4 separate regions of the Homo sapiens genome follow, and regions 1, 3 and 4 are each linked to region 2. Evidence: promoter capture Hi-C in 16 types of primary human blood cells and fetal thymus (Javierre and others, 2016). All regions are on one chromosome and are shown on one strand. The core of a region is centred on a gene start or on the middle of the fragment in contact, and the rest is flanking DNA. Distances in the headings are between cores, read along the strand shown.

Region 1 (7,097 bases), core at 3,005-5,504, 1.0 Mb before region 2:
AACGTTAATATCTGAGTTGCTGCCTTGAGGTAAATTCATCCTATCCTTTAACAGTGGGAAGACAAGTTAATGAAGCATTTATTTTTGCTGAATAACTAATGGTGTCATCATCGAGGTGTTCATTTGAAAAGCCTGGCTCTTTTATTAGCTTCTTGGTTGCAGGGCAACTGTAGGAGTATTCTTGTGCATGTGTGTTAAGTACTAACTGCTGATTCTGTTCAAATGTTGCACTAATCCCTGCGGCCTCACAATAATACATGTTTTTAAAGGGATAGATTTAACATTGGCACAAATTTGACTATTATGACATGTTCTTTAGTCTCTCCTCTATTATCTAAAGAGTGAATGTTTTGTCCCAATCTGATAGAAATTAAGATGAACATTTTGTTAAGTCTGAGAGAGTAGTTCCAGGCTTAAGTATCTTGGGGCTCTATTGCACAATTGGTCAGGGGACCTTTCTGTCTCTACAAACATACCCAACTAGGAAAAAGAGGCTATTATGCAACAACATATGCATGTTAGAATTTCTGTTGTCAGCTGCAACTAGAATATTTAAAGTTGGCATTGCTAGTAAATACAGATTTAGGTTTTACTTCCTAATTAAATATGTAATTTTGTAATGAAGATTTTTTTTTCAAATAATACTTTCTGTGGTCGAAGTAAAATGTCTAAAGTTTGGTCAGTATACTTAATAAGTAGATACCTTTAGAGGTACTTTAGCCATATTTTCCTTACCCAGGTGAGCTGATAGTATGTCACCATTTTACATTTTTTAACACACTAATGATGTATCCTATTAACTTTAACACAGTTCACTATATTTTAAGCACCTTCAGGCATTATAGGAGGTATGGTCCCCTGTGGAAGTCAATGTCTACTCTTTCTTGGATGTTCAAATAAAAGATAAACACTTCAAAACCATTCTTATAAAAGATGGCTTTTTTGAATTGATCACAGGACAATGAATAAAACATTGTGAGGCTACAGGGACTAGCGGAACATTTGAGCAACATCAGCAGTTAGTACTTAACACACACGCACAAGAATACTCCTACAGTTGCCCTGCAAAAGTTTGTGCTTTTGCATCATTTTCCAGGAACAGTGACTGAGTTCTCAGAGAAGAGCGCCACCAGATGTCATTTTAGCCTTGTAAATAAGCAGGAGAGTGTTCCTTTGTGATTCTGATAAAGATAAGTTAACTCTGGCAGCTGCACAGGCAGAAGGGGTGGAACAGTAGAGGAAAGTTGCCCAACCATGTGAAGGGTGCCGTAAGCATTTCCAGTCAGACGTTCTTTGTTCAGTGGAGTCTTGATGGTGTTCTTTTTTATTCAAAGTTTACATCATGCTATTATTTGGAGATTCTGAAAATCCTTAAGCATATGTGAGAAAACTGTGCTGTGCTGGTGGTGTTGACCTTTCTCCCAGCGTTATATGATTTATGGTCCTGTTTGGAAATGAATGTCTACTCTTTCTTGGATTTCAAATAAGAGATAAACATTTCAAAACGATTCTTTTAAAAGATGCCTTTTCTTGATCACAGGACAGTCGTGTATGTGCACAAAAATAATAAGGCCTTCTCCTACGGTGAGAAATTAACTTTGCTTTTCTCTCAGTGCTCAGGAACCTAGAATTGCTTACAAATATGGAAAACACATTCTGTTGTACCTACACCTTTAAAATGTCATCAATCTCAGAATTTCAAAAGTCAGACCTTGCCGGATACCACATTTCTTCACATTGACTTTTGTTCCACTTTAGGCTAATTTGTCCTGACACTGCAGCTGCAGGCTTTGGGCTGCACAGTCTGTCATTAAGAGTACCAAGAATGGTCTGGAGAGTCGGAGCTGTTGGAAGTTAATTTGGCGTAAACTTTACTTTAAAAGATTTCTCGAGCTATGACATGTCACGTCTATGTGCAGTTACTTACATGTCTGTTTAAGAAGTTCTTGCTTATATTACAAATGTGACCTTTACAGTTATCTTTCAAAGTGCCCAGTGCTTTGAAGAGGAACCCTGAGGAGCTAAGGAGATATTAGACTTGTTAAGCATGTTTCATAGGAATGTCAGTGTCCATTTGAATGTCCTTCCCTTTTTTTTTTTAATCACACAGCAACCCTGTCAGCTGGTAGCAGAATATGGTATTGGAATCTTGTGATCAAATTAATCATGGTAGTCAAAGTTCTAGCTCTACATTTAATAGCCAAAGTCAGTTATTAAAAGTTTTCTCTTTTGCAAATAAGAAAATCCCTAGGCCCCTTCCAACTCTAAATTCTGTAAACTTCCTGTTTCATATATTGGTTACTGACTTTGAGACCCCCTAGATCAAGAGTCAACCATATTTTCCTGCTGAAGAACTTGATGTCCTCTTCTGTTTTTTAGACAGTAAAGAGGACACTGCAATAGAGTGCAATTCTCTGACTTACATTTAGCATCTAGCAAACCTTGCCAACCAGCATGGGCACCAGCTCACTCTGGAGACTGAGCACATGTACTGCATTTAGAGACCCCTTTACTAGATGATAACTCCTGATCTATCCATCCTTATACTTGATGTAACACAGCAGTCCTATTGGTCAGCAAATTATCTGTGCTGCCCTCTCAGATCCACCCATGCGTCACAGGCATTAATCTATACCAAAGCCGTTTGGCTGTGTGTTTCAGATTTGCCCTTTATGTTCTTCTGACGACTCTTTGAGACAAAGTTAAAGATTATGAACCTTAGCTTGAACTGACTGGTGTCATGGCAACTAGCACTTCACCTTTTGCTGGTCTCTATCTCATACATGCTACAATATTTGTGCACATTAATAATTCATTGCAAAGTGCCAGATTTCTTTGTGCTGTCAAGCAGTGTCAAGGACAGAATATGCTGTGCTATCTCAAATGTCATCTACCAGACTGTTGAGGGCAAGAGTAATTAGAAAAGAAAACTAGTCAGGTTACTTGGGAAAATTCCTGAAAATGTGATGCTTTCTAGTCACCCAACTATAGCATTTTTCTTGCAAAGTATGGAATAGAATTCATGTTGATCAAAGTTTATTTAATAATGCGCCCCAGACATAAGGCAGGAGTTTGGAGTAATTGCTCGCCTCTATTCAGGCAGCAAAGGAAATGATTAACAGCCTTCGTGCTCAGTCACGTGTACTGGGCTCCAGCGGGAACCTGAGCACAGGCTTAAAAGAAACCCGAGTGGTCCTGATGTGGGTGCTCCTACCCCAAGCCTGCCTTTGCCCGACACAGAGCAGAGCTGAGTAAATGTTTGACACCAGCTTTAGAAACAAGCCGTCTGGGATCTCAGGCTGATTAGCGGCCCTGGATAGCTTTCTTCACCTCTCAGTTCCCTCCGCGCAGCTCTTTGGTGGTTGTTGACGCTGTGAGTGATTGTTATAGTAATTGCAGTGTTGCCTGTAATTAATGAGCCTTTCAAATAAAAAATATGGATCTTTGTCTTAAAAATGTGGAAAATGCAAAGATACATTGGATTTAATTTATACAGAAGGCCAGATTTGTCCTTGATTAGGCAAAGAAATCACATGTTTTAAACTGAACATTGACTCACCTGTGCTTTACAGAACAAAACAAATAATCTCCCTCTCAAAAGAAAGCTTCATATTACAACCAGCCAGCATGTGTCGTACTTTACTCTTTAAAATTGGAATATATTTCTCCAAATGTTTATAGCCCACAGTTGGAAAAGATTTTTTTCACATAGCCATATCTGGATTGTTTGGTTTCTCTTTCTCTCTCCCTTCCTCTCCCCACCGGCCTCCTCTCTCTCTCTCTCCCCCCACCGGCCTCCTCTCTCTCTCTCTCCCCCCACCGGCCTCCTCTCTCTCTCTCTCCCCCCACCGGCCTCCTCTCTCTCTCTCTCCCCCCACCGGCCTCCTCTCTCTCTCCCCCTCGCCCTTTTTTGCTTCCTTTTCCTTTAAACCACTAGCTTAACTCCTCTTCAGACAATTTGGGGGTGGGGGGAGGGTCCCACAGGTGGAAGTGTGTCCCCACGTCACATTTTTTAGAATATGCAGCCATACTACCCTCCTTATGGACAAACTGGAACTATTTTATTTAATTTAATACCACCAGATTCATTTCAGGGCAAGAAGGGGAGGGGATATTAATCAGTTTCAGAACGTTGCAACAAATTACACTTAAAGAACAGTTAGGAACTTGTTAATCTTCTGTCACCTACCTTGATGTGGTGCTGGGGATCTGGATTAGTCATTTAATACCTGCAGGCAAGACCAGAGCACGTGAATACAGGGAAGTCATTACAGCCAACCTGCTATGGTGTCTGAGTTTCTAGTCAGAGCCAGCCGCTGGCTGGAGTTAGAGTGGACACGTGAGTGAGTGATTCAGATTTGTCAGGTAACCAAGTAGCAGGTTCTGATAGGAATTTGATATTGGATGTAATTTCTTAGGATTTAATATTGAGTCCTTATACTTTAACTTTTATACAGAAAGATAACTAAGACCCTTTATGTTAAGTTTATTGCTGTCTTCCAAGACTAGGCAAATTTTCAAAACTTAAAAATGATCTCTGGTTAACGTCAATAATATGTTTTATACTTTTTGGCTAATCTGGGAACAATTAATCATAACTAGATACTTTTAAAAGACATATAGGCTTGATTACTTAGGGATATGTTTTCTAGTTGTTTGAGGCAGGGTCTCGCTCTGTCGCCTAGGCTGGGGTGCCATAACACAATCACGGCTCACTGTAGCCTCGACCTCCTGGGCTCAAGCGATCTGTCTACCCCAGCCTCCCAAGTAGTTGAGACTACAGGCACACACCACTATGCCCGGCTAATTTTTTGTATTTTTTGTAGAGGCAGCGTTTCACAGTGTTTCCTAGGGTGGTCTTGAACTCCTGGGCTCAAGTGATCCTCCCGCCTTAACCTCCCCCAAAGCTTGGGGATTACAAGTGTGAGCCACTGTGCCCAGCTGTTTTCTAGTTTAGATTGGAATATATAAATTCCATTGTGATGTTACTTTATTTCAATTCTGTGATATAATACCCATGTATAAATTATAGAGCCTAAAGTTGAACCCATAATAACCTGAAGTACCAGTTTTTGACTTTTTCTGGTAACAGATCAAAATAATAATTACTGTCATAATTACTCTTTCTGTTTTTACTACTACAAAGAAATACAATCAAGCTGAAACATGTGTCTCTCTTCCTCAGCAGTGTACTTGGGCAATGCAGTAATGAGAAGTGTGTTCACTTGCTGTATTAGTCTGTTCTCATACTGCCATACAGAAATACGTGAGACTGGGTAATTTACAAAGAAAAGAAGTCTAATTGGCTCACGGTTCTGCAGGCTGTACAGGAAGCATAGAGGCTTCTACTCCATTTCTGGGGAAGACTCAGGGAGCTTTCAGTCATGGTAGAAGGCAAAGAGGGTGCAGCAATAAACACGGCAGAAGCAGGAGGAAGCGAGGGGGTGGGGGCTGCACACGTTTAAACAACCCGATCTCGCAAGAACTCACTCATCACTAGAGCAGCACCAGGAGATGGTGCTGAACCATACATGAAAAATCACTCCCATGATCCAGTCACCTCCCACCAGGCCATACCTCTGACATTGAGGATTATAGTTGACCTGAGATTTGGGTGGGGGCACAGATCCAAACCGTATCACTAGCTCTCCTCCACAGTGCCTGTCTCAGTGTAGCAAGGTAATTCTCCCTTAATATTTGGAAGATTGATCTGGGTCTTCCAGCTTAGTCTGGGACAGTCAGACAAATAAGTATAAGACAATCAAAATCAAAGCACTATAAAACACATAATCGCATTAAGGTAAATGGTACTGACTATAGGTCTTAGAGAAATGTAGACAAAGTCAGGCTGGCCTAGAATAATATTAGATAAAGGTTTAACACCCTAACTACCTTCAGTAAAGAATTATTAGGGGGCTCCAGTGACATAAAGCGCTTTGAAAAGCATGAGAGACTATATAAATATGTGATGAATATTACACTTTGATTTACACACGAAGGGTCTGGGATAGATTATCAGAAGAGTTCATGGGTCAAATGCCACAGGTGAGAATAAGCATTTCATGGGTACTGATGAGGAAACTCAAACAGGGTGTGAGTTGGGAGTGGGGTACTACATGATGACTGGGGAAGACCTTGGGATACTTCACAAAAATTCATGTGGCACCTGTATGAATAATTGGTGGGAGCACAGAAAAACATCAGAATTAAGGGAATTGCTGTTTTCAATCTTTACACACAAAAATTATAACAAATTAGATAAGGCCAAGGGCAGTGGCTCACGCCTGTAATCCCAGCACTTTAGGAGGCCGAGATGGGAGGATCACTTGAGCCCAGGAGTTCAAGACTGGCCTGGGCAACATAATGAGACCCCTTCTCTACAAAAAATTAAAAATTAGCTGGGCATGGTGACGTGCGCCTGTAGTCCCAGCTACTCGGCAGGCTGAGGCAGAAGGATCACTTGAGCCCAGGAGTTCGAGGCTGCAGTGAGCTATGATTATGCCATTGCACTCCAACCTGGGCAACACCGCAAAACCCTGTCCCCCACCCCCGCCCAAAAAAAAAAAACCACAAACCCATATTAGGTATTCATGCAAAAACTCAGTGATACCGTAGCCAGCAAATCCTCTGAGAAGGGAATGCAGCTCTTCCTTAAGTCTGCTTTGTAGTGTTTGGTTGTGTGGGTTTTTTTAACTTCATAAATCATGGGAAGCTGTGCTGGCAGTAGGAGATAACTCAGCAGTAGACAGATTGCTCTTCGCTGCTTTCTTTTAAGAAGCAGGTTATAAAACTGTTGGGAGCCTGGTGGAGTAGTTAATAGATCATCGTAAGCAATTTGAAGTAATTTTTTTTTTTTTGATACAGCCTTGCATTTTGAAGGCAAGCGAGCTAGAGAGAAAAGAGTTTAGTGAGTAAGAAATCGGCGCCACCTCTGATTTTGTGCCACCTCTGGCACAAGTTTCAGGGCCTCTGGGTCCCCCAGCCTGGAACTTGTGCCACACTCTCTGCCTCACTGTGTGGCCAGTCACTTGCATCTGTGGCAGAGTCCCTGCGGTGAAACCCATGTTGGAATGTGACTGTTCAGAATGATACACGTT
Region 2 (7,318 bases), core at 2,511-5,010:
ACAAATAAACTCAGGAGTATAGATAATAATACACATAATTAGGAAGTGATGAGTTTTAAGTATTTGCTAGTTTTATTTTTAAAATTATTTATCTATTTATTTATTTTTGAGATGGAGTCTGTCGCCCAGGCTGGAGTGCAGTGGCGTGATCTTGGCTTACTGTAAGCTGCGCCTCCCGGGTTCACACCACTCTCCTGCCTCAGCCTCCCGAGTAGCTGGGACTACAGGCACTCGCCACCACGCCTGGCTAATTTTTTAGTAGAGACAGGGTTTCACCGTGTTAGCCAGGATGGTCTTGATCTCCTGACCTCGTGATCCGCCCACCTCAGCCTCCTGAAGTGCTGGGATTACAGGCATGAGCCACCGTGCCCGGCGGAAATAATTCATTTAAATGCAACTCAGTTTGATTTAATTTTGATTAATAGCTGAGTTGAACATCCACTTTGCAAATTCCTGAAAATTTAACAATCAGCTATCATGAGCCAGTGGGGGCACCACCCTGGATATAATGGTAATTGTGTTAGTATGGTACTAGTTATGGTAAAGATTATCACCTCTTCTGGGAAGCCTATCTGTGTTAGGTGCCTTTCTCTATATTCCTACTATAACTTTCTAGATGTCACAGCAAGTACCACACTGTGTTGGGATCTCATTTCTCTGCCTTCACACTTGATTTCCCTAAGGCCAGTGACTGTGACTGACTTTGAACTCTGTATCTTCTCTATCTAGCACTTAAGGCTCAAAAAATGTATATTGAAAACAAATTTACCTGGACCTGGCTCCTGTCCTCAAGGAGCCCACAATGATCATGTCTATGATCTACAAAAACCATAGACACAGAATACACAGTGTAGTAGGAGCTCTGAATAAACATGTGAAAGGATAATAAGGTTTTTATATTACCAACAGTGGCTTTTATTGGGATGGGAAAAAAGTGATTATAGATCATTGGAAGTAGATGTAGCAGTTCTATTGTGATAAAACAAACACATTTTTCCTTATGTCATCTATTTAATGATATTCTTTTAGTGTTCACACCTTTAACAGGTAAAAGCAACACACATTCATTATAAAACAATTAGAGTATACAGAATCATAAAGAAATAAAAGCCACCTATATTTTACAAGATTGATGTATTGATGAGGATAGGTTAAGACAATAGCATCCAGAAAGCACCAAATAACAGTGCCTTACACAAGATCCTTTTTTTCCTTTTCAAGTAAAAGTTTGGAGGTTTGCAGACCCAAGTTGGTGTGGGTTCTGCTCCTCAGTGTCTTTAGAAGCTCAATTTTCCCCAAGTTCATGGCCCAGCTGTTCCTAAGGCGTGGCCCCATTCTTCATGGTCCAGGTCAGAATCCATCCTCTCTGAAGCAGGATGGAGGATGGGATGAAGAAGAGGCACAGGGCTAATTGTCTCTTTAAGAAAGATTCCCAGCACTTGCCCTGTGGCACATCCATGACTTTCCCCTTGTTAGAAGATAGTTAGGAGACCATGTTTTGCTGCAATAGAGCCTAGGAAATACAGTCTTTATTCTCAGCAGTCATGTGCTCAGCTAAAATTTCTATTACCACGGAAGAAGGGAAAAATAGGTAGGATCAACTGTCAGAATTTGTCAGAATTATTTCCTTAAATTGCAAATAGAGGAATTTCTAGGTTAGAAGTTATGCCCATTTTCACGATTCTTGAAGCATATTGATACATTTGCCTTCAGAAGTTCTGTGCATGTTTACACTCCCAATGAGATCTATGAATGCTTTGTACTAAACACCAAGTAATCAAGTCATTCAGTGTTTCTTCTATGGCTTTGCTGTGGGCAGGATGTGATGGAGAAAAGTGTTGTGTTTGAGGGACCAGGGCTTTATTGTCAGGACTTTTTCAGCTGCAGGTGACACATGGCTTATCACGAGTACTGGAATTTATTCAAATATTTAGGATGATTTAGTATTAAGGTTGGTGCAAAAGTAAGCGTGGTGTTTGCTATTGAAGGTAATGGAATAGAAAACTAGGAATCTGAAGGTGGATAATTAAAAAATGAAGTTCTGAAGAGGAATGGGAGAGGAGGATTATATGGGTAGTTGTAAAAATTTTGAGACCTACAGAGAGAGGATGAAATGTAATATAATGCCCTCCTAATGTCAGTGAAGGGGCTTTTACACATATGTTTTTATCAATGGCTACATTCCAGGCAATACCCTAGGTGCTTTATATATATCCTTTCTTGAATTCCCACAGCCATCTGGGTAGGCATATAATTTTTATGTATCCATTTTTTACACACAATGAAGTCAAAGCTCAAGAAAGCTCAAGTTAGGGTAGAGCTAGAATTTAAACCCCACTCTGTCCGATTTCAAAGTTTTCCTCTTTCCGCTCTTACTCTTAAGTGTGAACTGATAAAAACAATTTTGGCAAGGAATTCACCTTTTCTATAGCACTTGAATTAACTGAAGGATATAAAAGACATTATGAAATCTTAAAAAATTATGAAAGAATTACAGAGAGTAACAAATGAAGTACTGTAAAGGCAAGGAAGAACCTCATGAGATTTTGTCTTTTCCAGGGGCCCTTCTCTGACCTGGGTTGGCTGCCTGCCCCTCCTTTCTCATAGTACTCTGTGTTCACCCTAAGACAGTTCTCATCTTTATTGTGATTGTCTATTTCCTTGGTCGTCTCTACTGCCAGATTATATCTTGAGTGTTAGATATTAGATTTCACACATCTTTATATTACCAGGAGCCAGCACAATGTCTGGAACAGTGTAGGTGCTCAATAAATATTTGCCAGATAAATTATACAGGCATTTATTCTATGGTCATATTTATACATATTACTGAAAGAGATTTTTAAAATCAACTTACTATATGATGCCAAATTTTTAAAGACATACAATAATAACTAGACTAATATAAAATTATGATTCTGACTATGGTTATAACAGAATGTTTATAAGACAACTGAACCTGTGACTAAGACTGAGTGCCTACAACGTGACAGGGTGTTCTGAGTGTTTAACATTTTATTATTAATTTTTCACAAAAATCTTATGAGGGAAACAATAAAATTATTATTCTTACTTAGAAAATGGAAAAACCAGGATATGAACTTAGGCAGTACTGTTGTAGAATTTTTGTGTTTAACAACTAGGCTATTTTATATCGCCATTGTTTATTAGCTGTTTATGACAAAAACAGTTTTTTTGCATGACTCCATAGTGGTATTTTTTTTTCTTTTACAAAGCACAGTTTAATTATCAAAATCAAGTACTTACTGTTTATACAAGACTATTCTCTAATCTACAGCAGTTAGTCAAATTTGTGGAATTAGTCCACTAATGTCATAGTAGCATCTTCTAATGAAAGCTCATAGATCCTTTTCCTGTTGCTTTGCTTGTCGACCGGAACTTCCTTTCCAACAAAGGAACAGGCTCCAAGAGCAACCCTCAGTATCTTGGGAAATTGCTGCTTTTATACCTGAGCAACCTCCAAACCGAAGAGTAATTTGCTATCATCATTCTTCCTTACTGCCCTTCATAACCAGGGTCTCATATTTTTTATTTTTTCTTCTAAAAAAAAAAACAAACCCAAAAAACAACCGTTCAATTGCACCTCCCAGGTGCACTCCCAGGCTTGCCAGGGGCTTTCCAGTCGCAGACCCCGCGTGTTCGCAGACTCTGCCGCCGGCGAAACTACATTTCCCAGCGGGCCGCGCGCCCTCCTTCCGGCAGGTACCCCTCAAAACCCGGAAACGCCTTGCGGGGCAGTGTGGGAGGGAGAAGTCCAGGGCGGACAGGCTGGGCGCACCCGTGCTCGCGCACCCCAAGATGGCTGAGAGGCAGGAAGAGCAGAGAGGGAGCCCGCCCTTGAGGGCGGAAGGCAAGGCCGACGCGGAGGTTAAGCTCATTCTGTACCATTGGACGCATTCCTTCAGCTCTCAAAAGGTACAACAGGCCTTGGCGGCGGAGGGTGGCGCGGATCGGGCTTCAGCACTGGGACAGCTCCTTCTGAGTCCCGCCCAGGGAAGCCGGTCCACCTAGAAATCCGCCTCCAGTGTCCTGACCCCGGGCAGGCGCTCCCTCCAGGCGGGGACGCGCCCGGGTGGGGAGCGGGGAGAATCGATCGGAGATGATCCTATGTGGCTATGGCCCAGGCTCCGCCTCTCGCGAAATGCGACAAAAAAGCATCATTTTCAGTATTTGGTCTGGAGGCCTTGCCTGCTGGTCTTCGGAGAGAGGCAGAGGGAGGTGCCTTTGTGGACCCTCATAATCTGCGATCTCTTCTTTTGCTCTCTCGCATTCACTGTCTTCAGCAAGAGCTGATGTACCTACATGTCAGGTTCTTGTCTGGGGAGGACCCATAATCAGGTTTAGGACACCGAGAAAGTGGTAGTGATGAGGAGGGTGACTGTTTAATGAATACAGTCAGAATCATTTCATTACTTATTTTGTGTTCTTCTCTTAATTTGTTGAGTATTGTTCTTTCCTTACTTGTTAATTCCAGGAATAGGAATTGTTAAAACGACTGTTGAAAATGTCGGTAACACAGGGAAGCCCAGAAAGGCTGCTTAGCGGTGTCCAGGGAAGTCATTTAATTGAAAGCTTACATGTGTTGTAGTAACCAGTGTGAACTCTTCCAGGTGCGCTTGGTAATTGCTGAAAAGGCATTGAAGTGCGAGGAACATGATGTAAGTCTGCCCTTGAGTGAGCACAATGAGCCTTGGTTTATGCGTTTGAACTCAACTGGAGAAGTGCCTGTCCTTATCCACGGGGAAAACATAATTTGTGAGGCCACTCAGATCATTGATTATCTTGAACAGACTTTCCTGGATGGTAATGTTAAGGCTACTTGCGATTTCTTGGATTTACTTTCAACACAACTATGTGTTCCCTTTCTCTTTTTCTCTCTCTCCTCTCTCTCTTTCTCTTGTGTCATGATGGTGGTTTGGGATTAAAAACCTTTTCCATTTCCATAAGCACACAAATATCAAATAGGTCAATAACAAATTTTGTATAGGCTAGTGTAATGCTATTTAAAATAATTTAATGCAAAATACAAATGTTAATGTTGAAACTTAAAAAAATTCACTTGCAAAAAACTGCAAATGTGTGGTTTGTGTTGGTGATTTCTTAGTCTTAAATTCATAATATTCTAAATGTGCACTGTGACGATTTCATCTAATATACCAAATGGTTTCACCTTAAAAACAAGAGGGAAAAAAGAGCAATAAATCTTAAAGGAGAATAGAATGTTAGTATACCTGAGTTCTTTGCCCCAGTCACTTCTGAATTGTTTGAATTTTATATCTTTACTAAGGAATTATAGGGCTTAAATTTGTATAGTGCATTTAGGTAAATCATTTATTAACAGCTTGTTATGTGTCAGACATTTTATAATTTCTTCAATAATGTCTTCAAAAGTATCTGTCTGAGACAGGCATGGTAGACAAGTTATTCCCATTATGTAAATGAGGAGAAAGCAACAGGGTTGCCCAAAGTAATATAGCTATTGTATGGCAGAGTCTTTGGTCTCCAAAGCCTTCATACTACACTGACTGTCTCCCATAATCCTTGCCACTTACACATTGTCTTGCTTGTTCCTAATAATAATCCTTTGAAGTGAACTGTAGCTTCAAAGAGTTACCAAAGACTACACAGCTGATCACAATGGACATTGATGAGAGCAGAACATGGTGCTCAGAGCTTCCAGCTGAATGCTCTTCTAAAAAGGCTGTATGAGATTGTTACTTTTCATCTGCCACCAGTTATGTTGATGTTAATAGGGTAGGTGAAAGCAGAACCTAGCCCCAAACTACAGGAAGCTGACAAAGGAAATTACTAGGACAAAAAAAAGTCTCATGTACTTAGAAGGAAAATGAGTATTATTAGGCCTAGATGGTGGGCAGTGGCGAGGGGGAAGCCCAGGGAATTAGATTAGCAATGGGCTACCCCTGTTCTTAATCTAAGTGCTAGTCCCCTAGGATTGTGATTGGCGGTTTTAATTAAAGGTAGCTTTAGCGTAAACCAAAGCATTTAATGATGTACTTTCTTTTCATCTTTATTTGCTATTCCTTATAAATTTATATGCTGGGGACTGTACTGAAAATGACAACTAGTTCATTTAAGAGAATTTTTCTCAATCTTGAGCTTTTTGGAAATGGATAAGTGTGTTAATTTGTATTTCTTGGGGGATGTAATTATAATGGAACAAAACAAAATAATTGTGTTAATAAATCTATTTTAAATGATCAAAAACTTTAAAAAGGTATTCTAAATGGAAAATCCCATTTAAGTTTTTTGGTAGCATTGCCTGAACTGCTTCTACTATCATCATTCCCCTCCTCCATCCCCTCCTTACACTGTTTTTCCTCTAAGAAATTCAGTGATATAAATTATATTTACAACATAGTAATGTTACCAATTATTAGGTTTTCTTACAATTTTCCTTAGTCTTTCTCTTTTGCTTTTAGTACAGAATAGTAACAAAGCAGAAATAAGTTCTGTGTCCTGCTAAGTTGTATTTAAATAACCAAACAAAGGAAATGCTAAGTTCTTTTGATTACTTAAGAATTAGAAGAGAAGGCACTGTAGGCTGTGACAGGATGGAAATATGGAAAGTGCAGACTTTAATTCTGGTTGAACTATTATTGTAACTCAGCAATCAAGAGTCCTAGCTTTTAGTCTGATGCTGCCACTAACTTGTTGAATATCTTTCAATCAATTGGGAAGGACGAAAAAACGATTAAGGGACCCAAAACTTATGGTAGATAGGACGACAGCAAGAGAACAATAGTTTATATAAATCAAGGCTAAGTTATATAAATCGAGGTCAAGAAGAAGTTTATCTCAGAGTACTGAAATTTTAAAAACAGCGTTATCACAATTATAATTAAGATGCTTTATCTTTAAGAACTCATGGAGAATGAAAGTCAGACAAGATAGACAAACATCCTATTGTCAAAGACGGGGAAAAGTGAATTCTACCAACCCTTGCTACTAATTGTATGTTCCATTCATCAGCAGCATTGGTGTCACCTGGGAGCTTGTTAGAACTGCAGAACCTTAGAGCTCTCTGCAGACCTATCAAATTAGAATCTTTGTTTTAACAAGAGCCCCATGTGATTCGTATGTACATTAAAGTTTGAGAATACTGCTATAAATTAGTGTTTAGTTAAGTAAGCACTGGTGTAAATTACTGTCTTTAAATCTGGTGGAAATTTAGAATAGATTGTGAATAGTTATTTAAATATGTTAAAATTTTTGTGTATCTCAGTGAAAGGAACCAATTTAAGTTTTACACTGCTGGAGAATGTCCCTAACACTTCTA
Region 3 (6,886 bases), core at 2,672-5,171, 1.2 Mb before region 2:
ATTTGAAATCACTTCAAAACAAAAGTTTTCTTAAAAAAGATTTAGCCAGCCTTGTAAGTTCCTTTCAACCCTCATGATTATGTCAAAGAGAAAGTATCAGTTTGGGACTAATATATCTTTTTTTTTTTTGGAGGGGGGACTAATATATCTTTAATATGTTTCTAACACTTCTGAATCTCCTTTTAGTAAAGAGAGAGCACAGGCCTCAGGCTCAGTCTTTGGCAAGCAGCAGTTACTAGCTAGAATTTAATAACATTGTTTTATTTTCATTGTGTTTACTTTGCATTTATTTTCTACTTATGGCAAGTAGTGTAGCATTCCTTGTGTAATAAGATACAAAATTACCTTTTAAGTATATTTATCTAATTTTAAAATGAGTTAATGTAAAGAAAATATTAATATAAAAGTACAGGTAGTAGTTGGAAGGTAAACATGTGACTTTAATGACAATTGCCTGACATTTAGGAAACACTAGTCTATTCTAAAGACTTCATCTTAGAGATAGGCAAACCAGAACTCTGCAAGTTAGGTGGCTTTGCCCAAGATCACACAGTTCCTAGTGATGGAGACAGTCCATTGTCCGTTTCATAGTGATGGAGTCCATTGTCCGTTTCAGCACAGCACATTGCTGTGACTTACATCGCAAGAGTACTAAGAGCCAACCCTACAATGAGAAACACAGCTCAGAGTGGTACCAGCTATTATTTACACATGCACACACATGAAAATCAAGCAACTCGCAGCAAAGTCAAGCCTCACTGTTGGTTTAGGTCTTCAATACCGAAACAGTCTTATTTCTTCTTTTTTCACTTCCAGAGTGGCCAATGGACTGGACAATGAGTCATTCCTATGTAGCTTATATAAACAAATTCAAACCATTCTTTTTAAAAAGCACTCATAGCCAAGTGTGGTGGTGCACGCCTGCAGGCCCAGCCACTTGAGAGGCCAAGGTGGGAGGATTGCTTGAGGCCAGGAGTTTGAGACCAGCCAGGGCAACATAGCAAGACTTCCGTCTCCAAAAAATAAAAATGAAACAATTTCTGTCACCAAATTATGAAAATTCAAAAATAAAAATAAAAAAATTTTTAAAAAATGTTTAAGTAAAAAGCACTCACAATCACAGAATTCTGGAAGCTTGGAAGAATAGCTAATTCCATCTTGTAAACAGTTTGAGAAATAGTTGAGGGAAGCAAAGCTGGGCTTTTACATGTTCCAGGGCACTGGCCCTGCATCCCAGCTCTTGTGCTTACAATTCCTGGAGCTGACAGTTCAAATATTTTCCTTTTTCTCTAATGTTCTTGCTCTCTTGATGCCATTTTCTACAAATCTAAAGATTTTATTTGGTCTTCAGTGAAAAATTACAACCACTGGGGTGAGTGCTAATGGGATGTCTGATCTAGCCCTTTTGCTACTGTCAGGGACTTCAACTCGTAAACTCACTAGCAAGAGGAGAATCCACCCTGCTTAGGAGGGTGCCAGAGAAGGTCATTTTACAACTTTCAGACACTCATTCTAGCTGGCAAGACAGTTTTCCTCTTGCTAATTGAATCCGCCCAGCCAAGAGTGCATGCACGTCTCTCTTCGTTCCCTTCTCCGTGGACAGCAATGGCCTCCTGTTTTTGTAAAATAAACTTTACGTGTTTGAAGATTATTCCCGAACTTCCCCTTGACTTTTTCTCTCCAAAATGGCCTCTTCCTAGTTTTTCCATCTTCATGCAAAAATAACATCTACCAATCTACTTTTTCATCTTTGTGGCTTACCTCTGAGTTTTCATCTTACTTTTTCCTGTCACTCATAAGTTGTTGAGTCCAGAACAGAGCACAGTATTTTGAGGGCGTGTGTAGTCAGTGCAAAAATGCCCAACATCCCTGCTTCCTTGGAAGGTCCAAATGCCTTAGAGCCTGCGGGTATCTCCTGGACTCTCCAGGCCCAGGCAAATCTGTTCGGAGGCCCGTGGAGTCCTAGCATGTCTCTGATTATTCGTGTTCCATCCATACACATTTTAGGTCAGAAACGGTGGAGGAGGAACCTCAGAGACAGACCCTCTAACGTCTTAAATAGAAAGTCCAGTTTAGCACTCAGGTCACGTGGGGGCCTAGAGCAGTGGTCCCCAACGTTTTTGGCACCAGGGACTGGTTTCATGGAAGACAATTTTTCTACAGACACAGGGGAGATTGTTTCAGGATGAAACTGTTCCATCTCAGATCATCAGGCATTAGATTCTCATAAGGAGCACACAACCTAGATCCCTCACATGTGCAGTTCACAATACAGTTCATGCTCCTGTGGGAATCTAATGCCACTGCTGATCTGACAAGAGGTGGAGTTCAGGCAGTAATGCTCACTCACCCACTGCTCACCTGCTGTGTGGCCCAGTTCCTAACAGGCCACACACAGACCAGTACCAGTCCATGGCCTGGGGGTTAGTGACCCCTGATCTAGAGGACGACTAAAAGCTTAGCCAGGTCCTAAAGCCTCCACAGAAGAACAAACTAACTAATTAATTATTAGGGGAAATCAGATATACAGATCACTCTGGACCTTGCCTAACTCTTCCCAAAGTCATCCAATCATCCAAAGCTGCTGTGCAGAATGGCTTTAGGGGTACTGAGAGATCACAGAGAGACGCCCCTCTCCCCAGCATTATGGAAGAAATTGTATGCTGTGTCTAAATTTCAATTTCCTTAACACACTTGAGCTCCATTTAGCAATGCTACGTAACACTTGCCCTGCCCACCTGGCAATGGTGTGAGAATGAGTCACATAGGGTGACACTCTGAAAACTGGCAAAACCAATGGAGGACAGAGCGGGGTGGGGGCAGCAGGTCCTAAGAGCAAGCTTTGACACAGTCTGTCTCTGAGCTGACAGAACTCCTCCAGAACCCTGGATGTGTTTCTGTTCACCTGTGGCCTTGGACCTGATGTTTATGTAAGAACTCATGGAGAAGATAAATGTGAACAAGTCATTAAGGAAACTCGTGGTCTGCCGTATTTCAAAGCCATGCCCTCCCTGGCCACCACGGGCCCATGTGTGCATGAACCCACTCCTCAATACCTCCTCAACAACTGTGGTTGCACCAAGCAGTGAGTGTGGAGCAGAGCGGCAGAGTTTCAACACTGTCCTAGCCCTGGACTGTCACTGAGGTCAGCCACAGATTGGCCACCTGGGCAGGTTCAAGGACTCAGACTCAAAGCTTCCATATTCTGGCTGTGCACGGTGGCTCACACCTGTAATCCCAGCACTTTGGGAGGCTGAGGTAGGTGGATCACCTGAGGCCAGGAGTTTGAGACCAGCCTGGCCAACATGGTGAAACCCCATCTCTACTAAAAATACAAAAATTAGCCAGGCGTGGTTGTGTGTGCCTGTAATCCCAGCTACTCAGAGGCCGAGGCAGGAGAATCACTTGAACTAGAGAAGCGAGGTTGTAGTGAGCCAAGATCGCACCAGTGCACTCCAGCCTGGGTGACAGAATGAGACTCCATCTCAAAACCAAAAAAAAAAGCTTCTATATTCCCTTGGGGCTGAAAGGGTAGTTGTCAAATGGCTGCATATTGTACAATCTACCCAAATGGTGGGAAAGTTATTCTCTCAGCAGTTTTATGATGATTGCTGGAAGCCTGTGAGTTCAGACTTCTCAGCTCATATGTGGGGAAACTGAGGCCCAGAGAGGGGGTGATTGGTCCAAGGTCAGACAAGTCGTGGCAGAGCCAGGTCTGAACCTGGCCTCTCTTTCCTTGGCCATTTGGGCTCCCCTTTGGAAATTCTAGACCATCAGCCCACTAAACAGGACGAGAGAGAGTCCTCCATCTCTCTCTTTGACATCTGACAGATGGGGCATGTCAGCTGCCGTTTTCTGGTTCAGCTCAGATGGTGAAGGCAGGGGAGGGAAGTGGTTTTCTGGTTCAGCTCAGATGGCGAAGTCAGGGGAGGGAAGTGGGAGGCAGGGCTGAACGTCATGTGTGTACATTTCACTTCTTTCTTCGCATTTTGGTTACATTTAACAATGTGTTACCTCTTCACAGAGTCATTTATATCATTTGCAGGAGGCCAAGAATGACATCAACATCTATTAAAACCTAACGTTTCATGTTCTTCACTGTAAACACTCACATTGCTTTGTTTCCAGATATAAACGCAAAGTCATTCTCAAGTTGAATGGTTTCTTTCCAAGAAACTTGATGTTACTGTAATGAAATTTACCTAATTAATCTCCTTAAGGAGAGAAGGAATCTGATGATGACTGTTAATGAAGACCTCAACGTTCTTCTTGTAATCAGAGCAAGGCAATCTACAGATTCGTTGTGGGAGAGACCATAACTTTCCAAATAAATCTCAGTAAAGCTTTGCAGACAGGGCACTTGAGTTGCTTCCCCACTTGGCTGGCTTGCTTTCAGCCTCGGTGAGCCCTGTACAAACTTCTCCAGAACTCTGGATGTGTTTCTATTCACCCATGTCCTTGGACCCGATGTCTGTGTAAGAACTCATGGAAAAGGTGAACGAGTCACGGAGGAAATCCTTGGTCTGCCCTACTTCAAAGCCATCCCCTCCCTGGCCACCGTCTGCACATCGTATGCATGAACCCACTCCTCAATACCTTCTCAGTAGTTTGGTTGCACCAAGCAGTGAGTGTGGAGCAGAGCAGCAGCTACCCTTTGCCAGGGGCTTCCCTGAAGACCAGTGAAGCCATCCACACAAATGTAACCAAGAATTTCTCCTTGCAAAGGAGCAAAGTGTGTCACCAGGGTATAGGAGGCCACACTGGGATGTAAGGAGAACACTCTGTCTGTCTCCTGGTCCCGAGATCAAGCGGGCCACAGGAGAAGTGGAACCCACAGGGAGGAGCTTTGTGAGAGATACCACTCTGTAAAGATGTTGAATGAGTGCTGGCAGTTATTAACCCTGGAACTGGGGATCAAACAGATATACAGGGAATCACTGGGTGGAAGCCTGGGAAGGATGGGTCAGAACAGTGTGGCAGAGTTTGAGAAGTTATAAAGAAAGCTTAGGGATGCAGCAGGAATCCAGTTTTCAAGGCTGGGGCAGCCAGTCAAGGAGGCAAGTACCCAACAGTAACTGGATCCTCAGCCCCCGAAAACAGAGCTGAATCTGTTTAAGTCCTTACTGATTCAGGACATGAGCAGACTAGGAAGGCAGGTGGGTCTGGGTTTGCAGATGGCAAGTGGGATAAAAGATATCAAGGCAGGTAACATGCTAGACTTGACATTATTTCAGCAAACAAGGCCATAAATAGTCCCAGGAGGCCACTAGTGACCTGAGTAGACTTTTCAAGAACAGAAGCCTTCCACCACCCCTCCCCATCTTCCATCCCATCAGTGGAAAAACGTTGATTCATTCACACTTATCTTTTACATGTGTTCTTACATAGCCATCAGGTCCAAGGCCACGGGTGAATAGAAACACACCAAGAGGTTCTAGAGAAGTTTACAGGCCTTGGTATGATAACATTCTGGAGTGATTTATCCCTAAAAGTTCATGGTGGTCATTCAGTGCTATGTTGCTCCACTACCCTTTTAAGGGATCTGGAATCTGGAACTGGGCTCAGCCTTCATTATAATTGCTGGTTCTATTATTTGTGTCCCATACTAGATTGCAAGCTCCCCAAGGGCAGGAGGCAGATCGGTCTACTTCTATAGATCAATTTCTGATACAGTGCTAGCACAGAGTTAGCACTCAAGAAATATTTGATGAATGAATGAACGAATGAATGACTAATGGTGGCAGACAGAACAGCTATGCTCAAGCATCGCCTTCCTCCTTCCTCATATCACATCCCTGCCTCCAACAACTATGGGGTTGTCTGTGAGACTTGCTTTGGCCAGTAGGATACGGGGGGCCATGACGCAGGCTCGCCTGAGCAGCAACCTGAAGTGAATGCATGTGCCGTGGCTCCGCCTCTTGCACTGCTGCTCTCTGCCATGGCTGCATGCTGCTCCTGCAGCCTTTGTTCCAGAACAAGAAGATTCGAGAAGATGTGAAAAGGAGACCCAGAATTGGCCCACAGCCTGGAACAGAGCTGTAGTCCATCTGCTGCTCTTGAGTGTTGTGATGGAGACATGAGGATTTGCTCTTGGGAAACAGATTTGGGAGTTATTTGTCACCACAGTAAAAGCTCTGACCTTGGAGGAACAAGGCCTCTTCTATTCAATTTCACCCACGTGCTGGCACAGTGCCTTCAATTCCTTTGTTTTGCCAAAGCCAAAAGCAGATGGCAAAACTTGTACCACCTAGAAAGCAGCCTTTTTGCTGTCTTCTCCCAAAGAACACCCAGAGAGCTTCCTCCACCCCCGAGAAACCTAATGGTTAACTGTCAAGGGTGCTTAAAGTGAAAAGTGGTCTGACGGCAAGTTTACATATCATATTTTAAACATTTACACAGTTTTAAAATAAATGCAAGCTTGAGGCCCTCCCTTTCTTCACCTGCCAGCAAAACATGTTCTCTCCAGTTCTGCAAAAAGCCAGAGCGTTACTTGGGCACTGGAGGTAGAGTTTTATGTAGAATCTGCCAACAATCTGGTTGAAATCTCAAGGCTTTTCCCTCCACACCAGTCTTTGATTTACCTTGGGAAGAACATTGAGTATAAAAGGTGCATGGGACTTTGGGCACAAGAAAAAACAGAACAAAAGAATCCTGGAAACACTGGATCTTTTGCTCAGTTCTACTGTTACTCACTGAAGTTTTCTATATGATATTAACTTCTGATGAAAAGGGGGAAAATGCAGTCAGATCTATGAGATACCAAACAGCCAAATATTTGGAAACAACTCAATGGTTCACATTTTCATCAGAGTCCATAATGACGTCCACCCTCACAGTCTCTGTCTACACTAATATTCTGACAATTCCAAATTCTACACTTCCAACC
Region 4 (7,114 bases), core at 1,271-3,770, 1.3 Mb before region 2:
TCCAGCCTGGGCAACAAGAGTGAAACTCTGTCTCAAAAAAAAAAAAAAAAAAAAAAAAGAGAGAGAGAGAGAAAGTTGCTGGCAACTATTATACATGCAATAAATGCTAAGTATGCAGTATGGTCTGAATTGTGGTGTCACCCTCAAATTCATATGTTGGAACAGAATATCCAGCATGATATATTAAGAGTTAGGGCAGGCTGGGTGCTGTGGCTCACGCCTGTAATCCCAGCACTTTGGGAGGCCAAGGCAGGTGGATCACGAGGTCAGGAGATCAAGACAATCCTGGCTAACACGGTGAAACCCCATCTCTACTAAAAATACAAACAAATCAGCCGGGTGTGGTGGTGGGCACCTGTAGTCCCAGCTACTCGGGAGGCTGAGGCAGGAGAATGGCATGAACCTGAGAGGCAGAGCTTGCAGTGATCTGAGATTATGCCACTGCACTCCAGCCTGGGCAACAGAGCAAGACTCTGTCTCCAAAAAAAAAAGAGTTAGAGCCTTTTGGGAACTGATTAAGTCATGAGAACATCACCCTTGTATATGGAATTAGTGTCCTTATAAAAGAGGTTGGGCTGGGTACAGTGGCTCATTTCTATAATCCCAGCAATTGGGGAGGCTGAGGAAGTAGGGTCACTCGAGCCCAGGAGTTTGTGACCAGCCTAGGAAACATAGCAAGACCCTGGTCTATTCAAAAAAAGAAAAAAAAAAAAAGTCGAAGGGAACTCCTGCCTTGCCCCTTCTGCCAATTAAAAACACAAAAAGAAAATACCATCTTCGAAAAACAGAACAGGCTGTCACCAACACCTCAACAATCAGTGCCTTGATCTTAGACTTTCCAGCCTCCAGAACTTTGAGCAATACATTTTTATTGTTTATAAATGTCCCAGTCTGTGGCATTTTGTTATAGCAGCTCAATTAGACTAAAACAGTGTGGTTGATATGATCATTATCATTATCATCATTAGTATCTGTCTCAGAGGACTTGGTCTGCCCTCCTATTGGGAAAGGGGGCAAAGATAGAAACTGAAGGTTCTGTTTTTTGTGGATAAACAGCAAATCTGAGAGTACTATTGAGTTCTTAATAGCTGATGTTTTCAAATCTATAAGGAATTTCATTGATAAAAATGTTTTCTACTCTTTGAGTATCAATTTTCTTCTAGCCATGTCTAAGAAAAATGTAACAGATTCATTCAATATCAACTGAATGTCCACCACATGATAAGCAGTTTTCTAGCCATGGGGATACGGTAGTAGACAACACAGACAAAAATGCCTTCCTTAGCGTATCTTGTTTTTTAATGAGACTGACAAAGAGAAAACTAAAATACCATCAGTTAGTGAAACATGCTATGTAGAGTACTGCAGATAGAAAATATTTAAATAGTCAAAGAAAGTATCTCTGAAGAAAGGTGACATTTGAATGAAATGGGTTGGCAGGGAGCAATACAAATATTGGAGAAAACAATCAAGTCAAAGCAAGTGCAACGACCCTGGAACAGGAACAAGCTTAACCTATTTGAGGAATAGCAAGAAGGCCAGAATGGCTATAGCAGTGGTGGCAACAGACAGAATTTTTAATAGATATGGTTAAAAACTAGGTAGGGAAAATATCACGTAAGGCCCTGTAGTCTTTAATAAAGAGTTTGGGTTTTATTCTAAAAATGATCACATATCATGGTAGGTTTTGAGGAGGCGAATGACAAGTTGTGATTTACATTTTAGAAAGGCCATTCAGATTATTGTGCAAAAAATCGCTGGGTGCAGTGGCTCATGCCTATAATCCTAGCACTTTGGGAGGCCAAGGTGGATGGATCACCTGAGGTCAGGAGTTCGAGACCAGCCTGGCCAACATGGTGAAACCCCCATCTCTACTAAAAATACAAAAATTAGCCAGGTGTGGTGGCAGGTGCCTGTAATCCCAGCTACTTGGGAGGCTGAGGCAGGAGAATTGCTTGAACCCAAGAGGTAGAGGTTGTAGTGAGCCGAGACTGTGCCACTGCACTCCAGCCTGGGTGACAGAGCAAGACTCTGGCTCAAAAAAAAAAAAAAAAAAAAAAAAAAAAAGACCATGTCAGGGCAAGAGTGGAAGCAAGGAGAGCTATTGTGAGGCTACTATGTGGGCCATATGAGACATGAGGGTCACTTGGCTGAGGGTGGAGATGCAGATCATGGTAAATAGTCAGATTATGGATCTATTTTGAAGGTAGAGCTGACCAAAGCTGTTGAAGGACTAGATCTGATGTGTGAAATAAAAAAAGGAATCAAAGATGAAATTTGTGTCTTTGGCCCAATTAATTGGCTAAGTGAATGGCAGTGCCATTGACTGTGATGGGAAAGATGAGGTAAGGTCTAGTTCAGTGGTGTCCAATCATTTTGCTTCCCTGGGCCACATTGGAAGAAGAATTGTCTTGGGCCACACATAAAATACAGTAACACTAACAATAGCTGATGAGCTTTAAAAAACACAAAATAATCTCATATGTTTTAATAAGGTTTATGAATTTGTTGGGCCGCACTCAAAGCTGTCCTGGGCTGCATGCCACCCACAGGCCATGAGTTGGACAAGCGTGGTCTAGTTTGATGGGGTATGGGTTATATTTGGACTTGTCAATTTAGATGCACAAAAATCCAAGCAGTGATGTGGGGGTGCTCAGCAGAAATTTTAGAGAGGGAGGTTTATGTTTGGGTCTCAACAGGATCTAGATGATATTAAACAGAGAGAATAGATAAGATCAACTAGGGAATGAAGTTCAAAGGCTGAGGTTAAGGACACTACAACATTTAGAGTTTAGCAAGAAGAGATATAGTCAGCAAGGAATACTAAGAAGTGGCTAGTGAGGTGTGAAGAATACCAGCAAAGGATGTTATCCTGTAAGTCAAATAAAGAAAACGCATCCAGGAGGAGGGCATGATCAAATGGGTCAAGTGATCTGAGTCTTCTATAATCTTTAGATATCATGGAATAAACTTAATAACTGTTAGCTGCATATATTTGCCTGGTAGTTTACAGCAGCATTTCTCAAATTGTGTTTGTTGCTATTGAAGGAAATCAAAATATTTTACCCCAAAATATATTTCTTTGACATATTTTGAAATGGCTGCCACCTGGCCAGCAAATAGAAGTGGCCTTGCAAAGCTGTCTTTTGTGGGGAAAATATGCATCTGTAGAGAATTTCCATTAATGCCGCCATGCCCCCTCCCCTTTCTATGCCTTTCTTGAATCCAGGAGAGGCTGAGTGTTTGACCGTTTTAAAAGTCTGAAAAGAAACATTTACCATCTATTCTCTCCAAGGGAGGTTTCATTTACATAACAAGGCCACCTTTGCTAGCCAAGATTGTTACTTTCTCCCTCATCACCTGCTGATTTATCAACATAACCTGTTTCTGGCCACCCTCTGAGTCTGTATTCTTTACTGTGGCTCAGGATGTTGGGTCTTCATTCTTAAGGCTCCCATGTACACACATTAAATAAATTTGTATGCCTTTTCTTCTGTTAATCAGTCTGCCTTACATTAGTGATTTTTCAGTGAAGCTTTCAGTGGTCAAGAACCTATGGTTCCCGGAGTACGATAATTATATAGGATGTTCTGCAAAAAAAGGAGTGCAGTGATCAATTATGGGACATGTTTCACTCAGAAATTCATGATCCACATTAGTGTATTTAAAGCTCTGAGAAGTCCATAGAAAAGAAAACTTCTACCTTTTAAAAACAGGAATCCCCCAAATTGTTTTTTCTTAAAAATCAGATTGAGGATAACCTACAAGCAGGAAAATCCAACCATTTTAGGGGTACAATTCTGAGTTTTTACACAATCACATAACCACCCCTGCAATCCCAATTGTTTTTAAGTCACAAATCATGCCATCTATCAATGGCTCTAGTTCCACTTTAAAAATGACTGTTGCCAGTTTACAGAGCACTTTCGGATGTATTTTTCCATTTAACTCTGATGTCAATCCTCTGAGTTTGGAACCATTATTTCCAATGAGACAGATAAAGAAAGAGGCATAGAGAGGTAAAGAATCATCCCCACAATCACACAAAGCTACTCAGTGAAAGAGGTAGATTAAATGCAAACATTCAGATGAGTTAGATTTTCACTTGGTATAGTGGAAAGATAACACTGGATAAGACTATCAACAACCACAACTATTCATTGAGTCCTTCAACCACCAAACACCTCTTTAAAGTAGGTGTTGTTATTCTTACCTTACAAATAAGAACATAGGAGTAAAGTGTCTAATCGATTTGCTCAAGGGTAAAGAGAAATTGGTGGAGAAAGAATTCAAACCTAGGCTGGGCACGGTGGCTCATGCCTGTAATCCTAGCACTTTGGGAGGCTGAGGCAGGAGGATCACTTGAGGTCAGGAGTTCGAGACCAGCATGGTCAACACGGTGAAACCCTGTCTCTACTAAAAATACAAAAATTAGCCCGGCGTGGTGGGGGCCCCTATAATCCCAGCTACTTGGGAGGCCAAGGCAGAAGAATCAGTTGAACCGGGAGGTGGAGTTTGCAGTGAGCCAAGATGGTGCCACTGCACTCCAATCTGGGCAACAGAACAAGACTAATCAAGAAAGAAAAGAAAACAAAAGAAAAAAAGAGAAGAGAAAAGAAGAAAGAGAGAGGGAGGGAGAGAGGGAGGGAGACGGGGAAGGAAAGGAGGGAGGGAGGGAGGAAGGAGGGAAAGAAAGAGAGAAAGAAAGAAAGAAAAGAAAAAAGAAAGAAAGAGAAAGCGAGAAAGAAAGAAAGAAAAATTCATATCTAGAACTCTGACTCCAGAGCCTGAAATCCTAACTGCATGGGATTGTGCTGTCCAGTATGATAGCTACCAGTCATACTTGGCTATTTGAGCACCTGAAATGTGGCTACTCCAAACTGAGATGTGTGTAAGTGTAAGATACACACAGGATTTTGAAAACTGTTTTTTTAAGTAAAATATCCAAGTTTTAAAATTACATGTTGAAATAATAGTTGGAATATATTTATAAGATTAAAATTAACTTCACCTGTTTCTTTCTATGCTTTTTAATGTGGCTCCTAGAAAATTAAAAATTACATATATGTGGTTCGTATGCTGCTTCAAAAAGTAGAGGCTGTTCATGGTTTTCTTTCTTAGGGCTGTCAAGGTCAAGGCGCTTCCTGTTATTTCTCTATTCAAGGGTAGAAAACATCACCAGGGTACGTTGTTTTATTGGGCATTGGTTTATTTCTAGGGGGTGGAAACGGGATTCTTCCCCTAGGTCCCCAGCTGTTTGTAGTCATATTCTTTTACTCACACACAATTTTATTGCTTTTGCTTTTGGGAGATGTGTTTTATTAAAAATAGTGGCTAATCAGGGACTTGTTAACGGCATACACTAGAAGGTTTTTTGTCTGTTTTTTGTTTTTTTGAGACGGAGTTTCACTCTGGTTGCCCAGGCTGGAGTGCAATGGTGCAATCTCGGCTCACCTCAACCTCCGCCTCCTGGGTTCAAGCGATTCTCCTGCCTCAGCCTCCCGGGTAGCTGGGATTACAGACATGCGCCACCACGCCTGGCTAATTTTGTATTTTTAGTAAAGACAGAGTTTCTCCATGTTGGTCAGGCTGGTCTCGAACTCCCGACCTCAGGCGATCCGCCCGCCTTGGCCTCTCAAACCGCTGGGATTACAGGCATGAGCTACCGCACTCTGCCTTGTTTTTTTTTTTTTTTTTTTTTAACAAAACGATCAAACAAACTGACCATGGAAAGTCAGTCCTGGGTTCCAGTTTTCAACTAACTGCATTTTCTTGCAGAGTGAGCCCGCACCATCACAGTGCCTGTATTCTGTATTCTGTCAGACCCAGGCTACACACGGATCCTGTAATGCATAAAACAACTTAAAAAAGTCTCAAGAGGCTACAAAGATCTTTTAAATACGTTAAAAGCTCTAAACGATTAGAACTGCCTAAGATAATGTTTCTCTTCCTGAAACCTGCTTTGCTTTAAACTCAAAACATTCCTTCAGTCCTTGAGCATTACCTTATTGATTCTGAAAAGGGAGGAAGTCTTCATGAGTAGGAGTGTGCTTCTTTATCATTATTATATACTATGTCCACTACCTCGAAATGGAGTGGTTCATTTTATTTGTATGGTTTGGTAGCTAGCGACCCTGGTTCTATACTGGAATCGCCTAGAGATACTTTGAAAAACACATATGCTTGAGCCTTGCCCTTAGAAATTCTGATTTAGTGAATACAAAGTATAACTCAGCCAACTGAGAACATACGACGTGCGGTCGGGGTTGAGAACTATTTATGAGGATAGCGAAACTAGTGTTTTAGGCCCTGTAAAATTTACTTTAAAAAAAAATCAGTTCATACCCAGGTACTTCCCCTCCGCATCTCTGTTCAAACCTTTTTAATGAAATCCCACTGGCTTAGACACTCTCCCTATGAAACCGCCTTTGCAAAAATCATAACTGAGAAATTACAGTGAAAGAGGTCTGACCTAACCGATACTACCTTTCTTCTAACATTCAAGCTGTCCATTCCTAGGTGTAGGCCAAACTAACTTTGGGAGGAACTTAGTTTATAGTTTAGCTTGGAAACAAAGAATATAACGGTGCTTTCCCCCAAACAAACCCCCTTCCTGCCTGGGGACTAGACTGCCTTTGCAGGACTAACAAATTAGCTACAAGATTAGAAGTTATGGTTTAGCAGTCATGAAACTGGAGGCTGCAAGATTGTAAACCTCCCCAAATGGCTCCTGGGAATAAAATCACTATTGTAAAACCTAAGATCAGTGCTTGAGATATTTTGCAGACCCTGCACTCAATGCATCAGCTGGCACCACCCAGATCAATAAACAGGCTCATCTAGTCTTGTGGCCTCCACCCAGAAAGTGACTCAGTGCAAGAGGACAGTTTTGACTCCTTACGATTTCATCTCTGACCCGACCAATTATCACTCCTGACTCAGTGGTCCCCTACCCACCAAATTATCCTTAAAAACACCAATCCTCGAGTTTTCGGGGAGATTGATTTGAGTAATAATAAAACTCTGGTCTCCCACACAGCCGGGTCTGCATGAATTACTCTTTCTCTATTGCGATTCCCCTGTCTTGATAAATCAGCCTGTCTAGGCAGTGAGC

Evidence for each region. Contacts are between HindIII fragments. The CHiCAGO score rates a contact against its expected background, and 5 or more counts as called.
Region 1: a fragment that was not itself captured here is called in contact with the fragment with the promoter of GDAP1 in region 2 in 2 of 17 cell types (fetal thymus and naive CD8 T cells); the score reaches 5.2 in fetal thymus.
Region 3: a fragment that was not itself captured here is called in contact with the fragment with the promoter of GDAP1 in region 2 in 2 of 17 cell types (naive B cells and total B cells); the score reaches 6.6 in naive B cells.
Region 4: a fragment that was not itself captured here is called in contact with the fragment with the promoter of GDAP1 in region 2 in 2 of 17 cell types (activated CD4 T cells and naive CD8 T cells); the score reaches 6.0 in activated CD4 T cells.

What each region holds. Positions count from the first base shown.
Region 1 is chr8:73,311,377-73,318,473 of GRCh38, forward strand. The region is part of intron 2 of RDH10 (retinol dehydrogenase 10); the gene reads left to right. It overlaps RDH10-AS1 (RDH10 antisense RNA 1), which reads right to left. Exons shown (of 6, transcript NR_125388.1): 5 at 4,190-4,229; 6 at 1-2,021. Among named protein-coding and RNA genes, the nearest start is that of RDH10, 20 kb to the left of the region's middle. The HindIII fragment of the contact is 1,302 bases long and covers 3,604-4,905 here.
Region 2 is chr8:74,346,643-74,353,960 of GRCh38, forward strand. It overlaps GDAP1 (ganglioside induced differentiation associated protein 1), which reads left to right and starts at 3,761. Exons shown (of 6, transcript NM_018972.4): 1 at 3,761-3,936; 2 at 4,632-4,824. The coding sequence starts at 3,820. RefSeq lists an enhancer at 3,774-4,003. The HindIII fragment of the contact is 8,708 bases long and covers 1-4,591 here.
Region 3 is chr8:73,164,651-73,171,536 of GRCh38, forward strand. All of the region lies in intron 2 of LOC107986891 (a long non-coding RNA gene), which reads right to left. Among named protein-coding and RNA genes, the nearest start is that of SBSPON, 75 kb to the left of the region's middle. The HindIII fragment of the contact is 839 bases long and covers 3,503-4,341 here.
Region 4 is chr8:72,998,790-73,005,903 of GRCh38, forward strand. No RefSeq gene overlaps it. Among named protein-coding and RNA genes, the nearest start is that of TERF1, 6.5 kb to the right of the region's middle. RefSeq lists enhancers at 1,760-2,304, 2,305-2,847, 2,848-3,391, 3,392-3,934, 5,022-5,564 and 1 more. The HindIII fragment of the contact is 2,026 bases long and covers 1,508-3,533 here.